Linked DNA regions of Homo sapiens: region 2 is linked to region 1. Evidence: promoter capture Hi-C in human tissues and cell types (Jung and others, 2019). All regions are on one chromosome and are shown on one strand. The core of a region is centred on a gene start or on the middle of the fragment in contact, and the rest is flanking DNA. Distances in the headings are between cores, read along the strand shown.

The links. The method cuts DNA at HindIII sites, captures the fragments that hold promoters and counts their contacts. A contact is called where the count stands out against the background at its distance.
Region 2: a fragment that was not itself captured here is called in contact with the fragment with the promoter of KIF26A in region 1 in 1 of the 25 tissues and cell types used here (lymphoblastoid cells).

The regions. Positions count from the first base shown.
Region 1 is chr14:104,136,379-104,141,451 of GRCh38, forward strand. KIF26A (kinesin family member 26A) reads left to right here and starts at 2,209. Exons shown (of 15, transcript NM_015656.2): 1 at 2,209-2,386; 2 at 2,665-2,910. The coding sequence starts at 2,345. KIF26A-DT (KIF26A divergent transcript) reads right to left here and starts at 2,251. Exons shown (of 3, transcript NR_158217.1): 1 at 1,152-2,251; 2 at 489-864. RefSeq lists enhancers at 88-799, 800-1,511 and a silencer at 1,208-1,377. The HindIII fragment of the contact is 16,750 bases long and covers 1-5,073 here.
Region 2 is chr14:104,553,925-104,558,997 of GRCh38, forward strand. No RefSeq gene overlaps it. Among named protein-coding and RNA genes, the nearest start is that of C14orf180, 23 kb to the right of the region's middle. The HindIII fragment of the contact is 7,980 bases long and covers 1-5,073 here.

The DNA of each region.
Region 1 (5,073 bases), core at 959-3,458:
GGCGGCGGGCGCGCGGCCAGTGAACGCGCGGGCGGGGCGGCGGTGGCGGGAGGCACTAGGGGCCGCTCCCCGCGCTTCCCTCTTCCATGGCGCTGCCCCAGCCGCCCGAGCCGCCCCGCGGCGCGCCCCGCAAGGCTCCCAGCCTGCTGGAGATGGGGGCGCTCTGCCTGGACTCGGAGATCATCCTGGGCTTCACCAGCCACCTCCTGCGGCGACGAGGCAAGGTGAGGGCTGTCGGGAGGGGGGCGGGCGGCGTAGGCGCCGTCCCGTTACTTTGCCGCGCGGCTCGCGCGGCCGGGGGTGCTGCGCCGGGAAGGAGACGGCAGGTCCGGAGCCGCGTCCCGCAGCCCGGGCTGGGACTCGCTGCCGCACTTTCCCCCATTAGCGTTGTCCAAGTCTCCCTCTGCCTTCAAGGCTGTGTCCCAACCGGACCCACCCGGAGGCTGTGGCTAGGGCGGAGAGCGCAGCGCAGGGATTCTCGGGCTCACCTTGCGCCTTGCTAGGATGGGCGAAGTAGGGGGTCGGGGCCCCTGACTGATCGTGAGCCCCCGAGGTGACTCCAGCCTTGTGCACCCCGTGTTCTGCGGATATGGGATGTGAGCTTGTGCTTCCCGAAGCGCCGCGGCGGTAGAAGCGCTGAAGTTGCGGGTGTGGCTGGCCAGGGGCGCAGGACCGGTGCTCCCGACCGCTGCGTGCTTCTGTGTTGCGTGTGTGGGTGGGGGGACGGGATATAGAGAGTGTGTGTCCCGGAGCAGTGGAGCGGCGGGAGGCGGTGCTGTCTGCCGGCAGTGCGGGGTGGGGTTTGGGTGTTGTCCTCAGTACCCAGATCCAGATGTGGGCTGACGCCCGTTTTCATTCTCCAGGCTGCGAAGAGACGGGTAGGGGAAGCGCTTCCGGCCCCCCAGGCTGGGTGGAAAGCGACTGCAGGCTTACGGATCTCAGAAAGAGTGGAGAGCCCCTGCCACTTTATTCCATACCCCCTTGCGTTTTCGAACCCCTAAGGTCATCAACGACCCGGAAAGCCGGGAGGGGATCACCCACCCCACTTTCTGGGGAGTGCGTGCGTGGGCGGGGAGGCTTATCCAAGTAAAAGGGGGTGGGCAAAACGGAAAGGGTCACTTTGACGTACTGAGTCTCTGCGAAGGCCTCACCGTATGTGCCGGCAGCCGCGTGTCCTGGTCTCCGCCGGGTCACGACCTTCGGAGTTTCCGAGTGCGCCTCAGGCCTGGGACGCGCGGCGCTGTCTCCCCAGTCTCGGAGCCGTGTGCGCAGCGGCCGGCAGGGGGCACTCGCGTCACGGGGAGCCCGCCCGCCGCGCCCGCCTGGCTTGACCCGGGCTTTGGGGCTGACCCGGAGCCTGGCCCGGAGCTGCCTGCGGCCGCGGATGCCGGCGACATTTGGGGCCCGGCTAGGCACAGAGCAACTGGTCGCCAGGGAAGGGCGGGGGGGCGGCCTCCCAGCCGGAGACAAACAAGCAATTAATTCCGGAGCTGAGTTCCCATCTGCCAGGCCTGCTGACAACAGGTCCGGCGCACGCCCGCAGGACCTCCCGCTTCCCGGGCGGCACGGCGCGCACACCCACTTGCGGGCACACGCGCGGCTGTAAAGACACGTGCCGTTCGCAGACGCGCCGAGGCACAGATACGCCGGCGCGGTCGCTGCCCGGCTCGAGGCGCACACCGCGGCGACACTAACCCACGCGCGACAGTTAGACCTAAAGTGGCCCGCGACACGCAGAGTACGCTGGGCTTGCTGGAAAGGCGCCTGGGAGTCTCGGGGCCGGGGTCCCGCCCCTTCCTCGGCCCACCTCGCCGTGGGCCTTGGGCAAGAGCGTCCCCTCCGCAGCCTCAGTTTTCCCGCCTGTAGAGGGAGGGGCGTCGGCGCCTCCTGGGAGACGCGCAGCCCTGGTGTCCCGGGAGAGGGGCGGGAGGCGCATGCGCGCGCGCAACTAGATCCTCGCCGCCGCCCCCAGCGCCCCTCCCCGGGGCAGGGACTCACCTAACAGGTTGGGGTCCTTGGAGTGCGCGGGGCCGCGTGGGGAAGCGGGGACCCTACCCCCCCCACGCGCCGCCCAGCACTGGGCAAGGGCGGGGCACTCTCTGGGCTCCCGCCCCTCGCCGCCCGCCCCGGGAGCCCGAGCCCCGCCCTTCCCCGGCCCCGCCCTCGCCTCCCGAGCGCGCCCACCGGAGCCACCGCGCTCCTCGCGACACTCGCAGGCTCTGCGAACTTCCGAGCGGCTGGGCCGGGCCATGGGGGCGCCTCGGGGCCGGATCACGTAGCCGCGGCGCCCCCGGAGAGCCAGCGTGGCCGGGAGCGCCTGCCGGGCTCTTCCCGCGCCCCGGCCATGGTCGGCCGCGGCGTCCCTCTGTGCGCTGCGCAGCCCGCGGTACGCGCGGCCCGGCCTGGAGAGGGAGGCGGGCGGCGGGGGCCCGGGACGGCGAAGATACTCGCGGTGTGCGCTGGATCCCTGGGGGCCGGGCCTCCTGCTGAGGGTAGCGGACCCGCAGGCGGGACCTCCGGGGATGGAGGGAGTGGGTGAGCGCCAGGGTCGTGCCCAGGGCTCCTAACTTTGGCAAGAGCGTCACGCTGGGGCAGGGCGCGCAGGGGTCTGGATCCGACGGACGTCCCAGGCTCACTGTCCGCTTCCGCCCCCACACCCTGCAGGTGGCCGAGGGCGGCCCGGCCCGCGAGCCGCCGCCGCTGCTGGAGGTGTCCCCCCGAAAGAGGCTACCCGCCGGGCCCGACCAGGACCCATGCGGCAGCCGCCCTGCTCCCGAAGGCGCCGGGGCCGGCCCAGAGCAGGGCCACTCGGCCGGCGGAGGCGGCTGGTGCCGCCACTGCCACACGAAGCTGGTGGAGCTCAAGCGACAGGCGTGGAAGCTGGTCAGCGGGCCCGGGACCACCCTCCGGGTAAGTGACACTTCCTTAGGCCGACCCCTCCGAGCAGGGCCACGCCGAACTTGGGTAGAACTTGGGGCTTGGAGGGAAGCAGGGTTCCACTCCTTCCCTGCTGCTGTTTCCACAAAGAGTTATCAGCCAGGACTTCCCTTCTGCGGGCCTCAGTTTCCCGGTCTGTAACACCATGTGTGAGCTAGGGAGCTCAGCCCGAGGGGCCCTGCTGCCTCGGATGGGAGGGGCCTGGGCTGGCGTTCCTCCCCCAGCCCAGATGTCCCACAGCTGGAACGCAGGTTTGTGTGGGAGGAGGAGGGGAGAGAGCGGATGGCAGGGACTCCACCCAGGGCGGGACAGCTCCAGCCCTACCAGCAGGGAGAGGTTATTTGGTGCATTGTGGCCCTTGGGGCACCTGGGCCCCCAGCCAGGTGTCTGGAAATTACATACCTGGGGCCGGGGGGCCTGGCAGGTGAAAGGGTGGGCCACAGCAGCTGGGGGGTCCCTGCCTACTCCTCTCCCAGCCTCAAGGATAAGAACTGTTGTCCCATACCTCCTGGGATAGACTGAGGCAGTGGCCGCCCATGGGGAATTGAGTCGGGGCCCTCTGGGTTCCCCAGGCTCCAGCCCCAGGGGCAGGTGCTTGCAGGGGAGGGGTTCTCCTGGATTTCCAGCCAGTGGGCCTGCCGGCTTTGGAGGGAGCAGGGACCATTGTTCCAGGAACAATGCATGCTGGAAGTTTGCAAAGGCTGGGGGCGGGTGGGGGTCTCCAGAGGAAGCCCGCTGCCGGGCCTTCAGCCTTTATGAAAGAGTTCCTGGGAAGTCCGCATAATCCCCATTGAATCTAAATATAGTTCTCTAAGGGCTGTGGGGGTTGGAGTGAGCTGAGACCCTGACTGCCCTGTCTGGGGCAGGGCAGGGTGGGGCAGGGTACCAGTCTGGTTTCTGTCCTGGGCACCGTCTCCGGGCTCTCTGGAGTCTCGGCGAGGGATAGGATTGCTGTAGCCTCTCTCTGGCTCAGGCCAGGCGCCTGTGGGCCTGTCCTGGGGTGGGGCTGGACCCGCCCTGTCCTCTGCTCTGGACAGGCTGCAGCCTTGGCCATACTCTGTGCCCCAGTGGCCTGTATCTAGTTTAAAAGGTAGCAGGAGACCCTTGAGGGCCCCCTGGAGAGGGCCAGCCAGAGCTAAAGGCCCATCTTGCTGCCCCATTAGGGGAAACACGCCAGAGACAGGAGGGGCATTAAGATTGAGCTGGTCTCCTCATTCTTGGAGTGGGCTTGGACTGCTGATGCTGCCTGGCCCTGGGGCCATGGTCCTGGCATGGACTCGTGGAGGGGAGGGGGCTCCTGGTCACGGGCAGGCCAGGGGTCCTAGTGGAGAGGGCTGCAGGTGATACTAGTCCCTGGTGGATTCTAGGTTCCTCATCTAGGGGGGTGTCTTGGTCTCTTCTGGCAGACAGGTCTTCAGGGGAGCCCCAGACCACCCATCTCCAGCCTCCCCTGAGCTTGGCCTTTGACACTGGAAACTCCTCTTGAGTGCCAGCTGGGGGCTCCCCCTTCCCTAGCTGGCGCTGGCACTCAGCACACCGGGGTCCCGGGCTGGTCTCAGCCAGGGCTTTGTTCTGCTCTGGGCCCCCTTCTTCTGCTTTGTGGTCTCCTCTGTCACCTGGGGCCTGTTGTGAAGTGCTGTCCCACCTGCAGGGTGCTGTGCCCCCGGGAGAGAAGACCCCATCCTCCACTGTCTCTCCACAGGGCATGGGGGGCTGCACCTGCCATCCTGGGGCCTTACGGGTGTCATTGTCCTGTCCCCTGTGCGGGCCTGGGCTGTCCCCAGAGTCCCAGCAAAATTGCAGCCTGCAGCCCTGGCCTGGCCCGCTGGGCCCAGATGTGTGGACATGGCTGCTTCTGTGTTTGGGTTGGGAGGGAAATCTCTGGGGTGGCCAGGGAGACCCCAGTGTGCTCCCCGGAGTCTGGTGCACTGTCCAGTGGGCCCTGGCCTCTGCTCTGTAAGGCCAACGTGGCAAGGGGTATTTAGGGTTGGTGTTCTAGGATTTCCCCAGGGGCCCGTTTCGTATTTTTTAGGGGAGAGATGAGCTTCCTTGAGGATAGCTGTTTACAGGGAACTTCACAATCATCCATCTGTCTCATGCTTGGATCTTCAGAAGCCCAGAGAAGTGGAGAGACTT
Region 2 (5,073 bases), core at 1,429-3,928, 420 kb after region 1:
GGAGAGGAGAGAGGAGACTGCGGGTCGGCACTGGGAGGCTGGCGGAGGGAAACGGAGTCCACAGCACTGTCCCCTCCCCGTGGTGTGCTTGGAATTCTCCACAACCACCTTTTGAGGAAGGAGCTCACATAGAGACCCGCAGAGGGGCCTGGCCACTCTGGGGTGTCAGGGGCAACAGGGCCCCACTGCCCAACCCATCCACTCTGGGAAGGGGCCCTTCCTCTGTGCAGCCCCTCCAGTCCTCAGCCTGGGACCCCCCCCCCACCATTGTGAGCCAAACACTCCCTGAGGCACAAGGATCCAGGCCTCTCGAGTGGAGGGCGGGAGCCGAGCAGGGAAAGCCAAGGCCGCCTGGGGTGAGGAGACAGGAGGGCAGGAGGGGGCTGGAGCTGACTGGAGGTCCCAAGTTCAGAGGTGGGGCACCCCATGGCCGCTGTCTGTCCACAGCTCTGTGGCACCTGTGGATTTGGCCAACACCCCCTCCGCAGTGAGGGGGGACCCCCAAGAGGAGGGGCCACCTCTGTCCTGCTGTTCCCTAAGCCCCAGCACTCACACACATCCCTGAATCCCTCGCTGTGCCACCATCAGCCTTGCAGCCACCATCGGGCGGCGTCCTGCCTTCCTCCCTCTGAAAGGCCTACTTTGGGAGGTCAGCCCGACTCAGAGGCGAGGCTGCAGAGCTGGACCTTCGGGAACCTTCACAACCCAGCCACAACGGCCCCCAGCACCCGCAGCCTGCCGAAGGCATGCTTCTATCCTCAGCCTCGCTGCCCTCCTGCAGGCCGGGGCCTCCCTCCTGCAATGCTGGCTGTGGGTGGCTGCCAGCGAACGTCCAGCTGTCACCCCAGCCCCCGCGGCATCTCCTGTCCCCACACAACAAGCCAGGCAGGGCTCGGGCTGGGAGGAAGGGGCCCTGGGCTCCCCTTCGTCTGCCTGGACTGTGAGGGCCTGGGGCAGTGTGCCAGCTTCATCGAATGATGTCAGAGAAGCTCATTCCGCTGGAGCTCGGAGCCTCAACGGCCACCCAGGAAGCCCTCAGAGTGGCTGCGGCCCCTTTCAAGGGGAGAGAAGGGCAGGAGCCATGCTAGGCCTCGGAGGGGTGGGGGTATGCCTACCTTGGAAGGCAAAGACCCCCGGACTCTGCTCCCCGCCCTCCCCTCAGCACCGCTGTGACTCCTCTGTGCAGGGGGCAAACTGCACCTCAGAAGAGTCCCATGGCCCATGGTCATGGCAGCTGGACTCAAGCCTGAGTCTGCATGGGGTGACACCAGGAGCAGCAGAGCCAGGACTTCTGGTGGCCCTGAGCTCCTCTGCACCAGACCCCTGAGCCCATCCCAGGCCCAGGGAGCCCAGGCTGGGAGGGGGAGGCAGGCTGCCACTGAGCCATGGAGACCAGTTTCCCCCAGCTGCCCAGGGCACGGGGCAGCCCCAGCATCGCTTTGCCATGTTCCTAACCCACACCGCCAGGCCCCGTGCTCCAGAGTGAGCCTGTCTCCGATCCAATACGCTCTCCTTCCTGGCTAATCCAGTTGGAGACTTTTCAACCTCACTATAATTTACAAGGCAGCTGGAGCACAGGATATTTTTAATAAAAATTAGGTACAAGCAGATACAGGGGATTAATAGTTGTATTATGATTTTATAGTTCTCCATATACAGCGGCACGGAAAAGACAATCAGAGAGCAGGGCCATTTCAGGCAGATAAAATGGGGCATTTATTTTTAATGGAAAGATAATTTCAGGATGCATCCAGCCATGGAGAAAGCTGCTGAGGCACTGCGCTGGGCAGAACAAAGAGGAGGCTGGAGGCTCGGCGGCCTCACTGAAAAGCCCTGTGGAGAGATTCTGGGCTTGCGGGACCAGGGGCAGGCTCCCCACCTAGTGGGTCTCCAGGTGGGGATCAGCAGTCCAAAATCAGAGCCATGTGAGCCCTGCCAGAAAGAAGGACCCAGGAGGGGTCCAGCCCCTCACCTGCCTGCTGTGCAGCTGTGGGCGAGTCTCTCTGAGCCTCAGTTTCCCTACCTGTACAGCAAGGACTGGATGAGCTCCTAGAAAAGCGGCTGCTCTGCAGAGCTGGGGAGGGGGTTGTGGAGATGGCCATCCACAGTCATCTCTGCTCCTTTCCCAGGAGCAAACACCCAACTGAGCATCTGCCATCTGCCCTGGGGTCACAGCTTCCCTTCCCTCAAGTTCAATCTCAGTGGCTTGAGGCCACCAGCGCTGTCCCTGGGGACACAGCTCTTCTTCCCCCATCTCCCATCCCCACCCCACCCCAGTCATATCCAGCAGGGGCTGAGCCTCTCCAGGAGCTACGAGGCTGGCTTTGAAGCCCAGAGCTTGAAAAAGGCACTATAGATGGAAAAGAAGCTGTCGGGGCTGCCATCTTCAAAGCCAGAGGCTGTGGCAGCTGAAGCCCCTGCTTGGGCTTTGCTGGAGCCCCGGCTTGGGCTTTGCTGGAGCACATCGTTCTGAAGACATGCCCAGCCCTGCCCCTCACCCCAGGCTCCCAGCCTCCTGCATGAAGCTCTGCACCCCTGGAGGGACGAGGGACTAGGGGGCCACTCAGGAGCAGGTGGGGCACTCAGGGATAGACAAGAGGGCTGCGGTGACACTGTGCCTGGGCTGGTCCCCCGGGGTCCAGGGCTCTCCTCTGGCCCAGAGGGACACCCGAGCTCCCTGTGCAGCCTTGTCCAACCTGGAGCTCAGAGGAAGTGGCCATCATGGCCCTCAAATCCTGTCCCAGTGGACACTGGCAATGGGCTGGCCCGGCCAGACAGGCTCACGTGGGCCAGAGGGTCACCCCCTCTTCCTGCAGCCCAAGGAGAGGAGCCCAAAAGGAGATCCCCTCAGGGACTTCCAGCCCACACAGACTGAGGATGCCCAAACCAAATTATGGCCAAAGGCCCCGGGGAGCTGAGAGAAGACAGGGAGTCAGGGAAGGCAGCGTCTGCAGGAGCCCCCAGGCCCCCTCACCCACCCAGGGAGTGACGCCCTGAGCCCCCACAGCCAGCCCCCAGCCAGGCCCCCAAGCCCTGCAGGAAATGGTCACTGTGTCCACTCCCGGCTGGCCACCCCTCCCCAGTAAGAGTCTCTAACCTGACCCTTCCCTAGTTGCCCCAGAACCTTCCAGAATCAAAGGAAACCACAGACTTCTCTGCCATGTCTTCTAGTTCCCAGGGAGCAGGAGACCCTCCTCCGCACAGCCCATCTGAGGGCAAGGCTGGAGAGGCTTCTGCTCCCCTGTCTAGATCCCCCTCTGGAGCCAGCAGCAGATGCCTGACAGAGAGAAGCAGTTCCAGTGCTGAGAGGCCTGGCAAAGTCCCTCAGGTGCTCAGGCTCTGACGGGCCACGGCTCGTGGAGAGAGCAGTGTGCCAGATCACCCCTACTCTTCTTCCAGGGACCACCTCCCCACCATTCCAGGACACACCAACAGACCCTGTGTGTCGGGCTCAGGAGCTGCCCAAGGGTCTGATGTCCCAGGCTTGTGAGGAGTGGGCCACCAAGAGGATGGGCATGCTTGGCTGGGGACCCCCAGCCAATCCAGGTGGGATTCACTTAACTCTCTGTGCTTGACACCCAGAAGTCACCAAATGAAGGGACCCACAAAATCACTCATGGTGAACACGGCTCCATAGGGATATAGGCTCAAATCACAAGGGCCCATCTCAGCTGGGAAGGTAGACCCAGGCTCGGCTGGGAGGTGAACTCAGACTTGACTGGGAGGTAGACCCAGGCTCAACAGGGAAATGAACTCAGACTCGGTTGGGATGATGGCCACAGGCTCAGCTCGGAAGTGGACTCAAGCTCAGCTGAGGTGATGGTCCTAGGTTCAGCTGGGAGGTGGACTCAGGCTCAGCTGGGATGATGGACTCAGGCTCAGCTGGGAGGTGGACTCAGGCTCAGCTGGAAGGTGGGCCCAGACTCAGCCAGGAAGTGAACTCAGGCTCAGATGGAAAGTGGCCCCAGGCTCAGCTGGGAGGTGGACCCAGACTTAGCTGGGAGGTGGAATCAGGCTCAGCTAGGAGGAGGAACCAGGCTCAGCTGGGAGGTGAACTTAGGCTCAGCTGGAAGGTGAACTCAGGCTCAGCTGGAAGGTGGCCCCAGGCTCAGCTGTGAGGTAGAGTCAGGCTCAGCTGGGGTGATGGACCCAGGCTCAGCTGGGAGGTGGACTCAGGTTTGGCTAGGGAGGTAAACTGAGGCTCAGTACAGGTTGAAGCACCATCACCAGGGCAGCCGTGACAGGTGATGACGTTGGACTGCTTTTGTATGAAAGAGGCAGCGCTTAGTTCTCACTAGAAGAGACGCTTAATCTGAATATGGACTGGTCTTTCCTGGCCACAAGGCTTCTGCAAATATGACCATCTTTCCCCATCAGCCTGGCCTTCCGCACAACATTGCTGTTAGCCAAGGGTCTCCCTTCGAGCTGCAATGGACTCAACCTCACAGAATCCACTGGTCTGACGTCCCCACTGTCTGGCAGCTGCCAGCCTGAGAGGCTGGCAGACTGGCCTTCGGAGACTCAGGGATGGCGCCAGCTGGGTGGCGATGCCCTGTGGGGCCTGCCAGGGCCCTGAAGGATACAGTGCAGGCTCCCAGTCAGTGACCCACAGCTGGGATTCACGGTCTGGGGATCTGGGGCTGGAAATTGGGGCTTTTCATGTGGTCACCTCTGTGATAGTTACAACTCACCCTTTGACTCTCACAGCCTGGTCCTTGAACTGCAGATGTGTCAGCCAATCTCAGAGCCAAGCCCAGCAGCTCCAGGCCAGATGGCCTCACCCACCTCCAGCCCAAGAGCATCCTCTTAGGAGGGGGGTTAAACTGAGCCTCCAGAGACCACCTTCCCGTGGCACCTGCTCGTAAACTAACTCATCCGGGAGGTGGGGGACCACTGGGTTCCACATATGGAAACAAGGGTGGTGGGAGAGGCGGGGTGCACAGGGCCGAGCTCCTCAGCAGGGTCCCCATGGATGGGACAATCAACAAATGCAGAGCACACCTAGGAGCCTGCAAGGCCGCCCTGCTGCCCGCGGCCCCTGCAGAACCAAGAGGCTTCCACTTTCTAAATCAC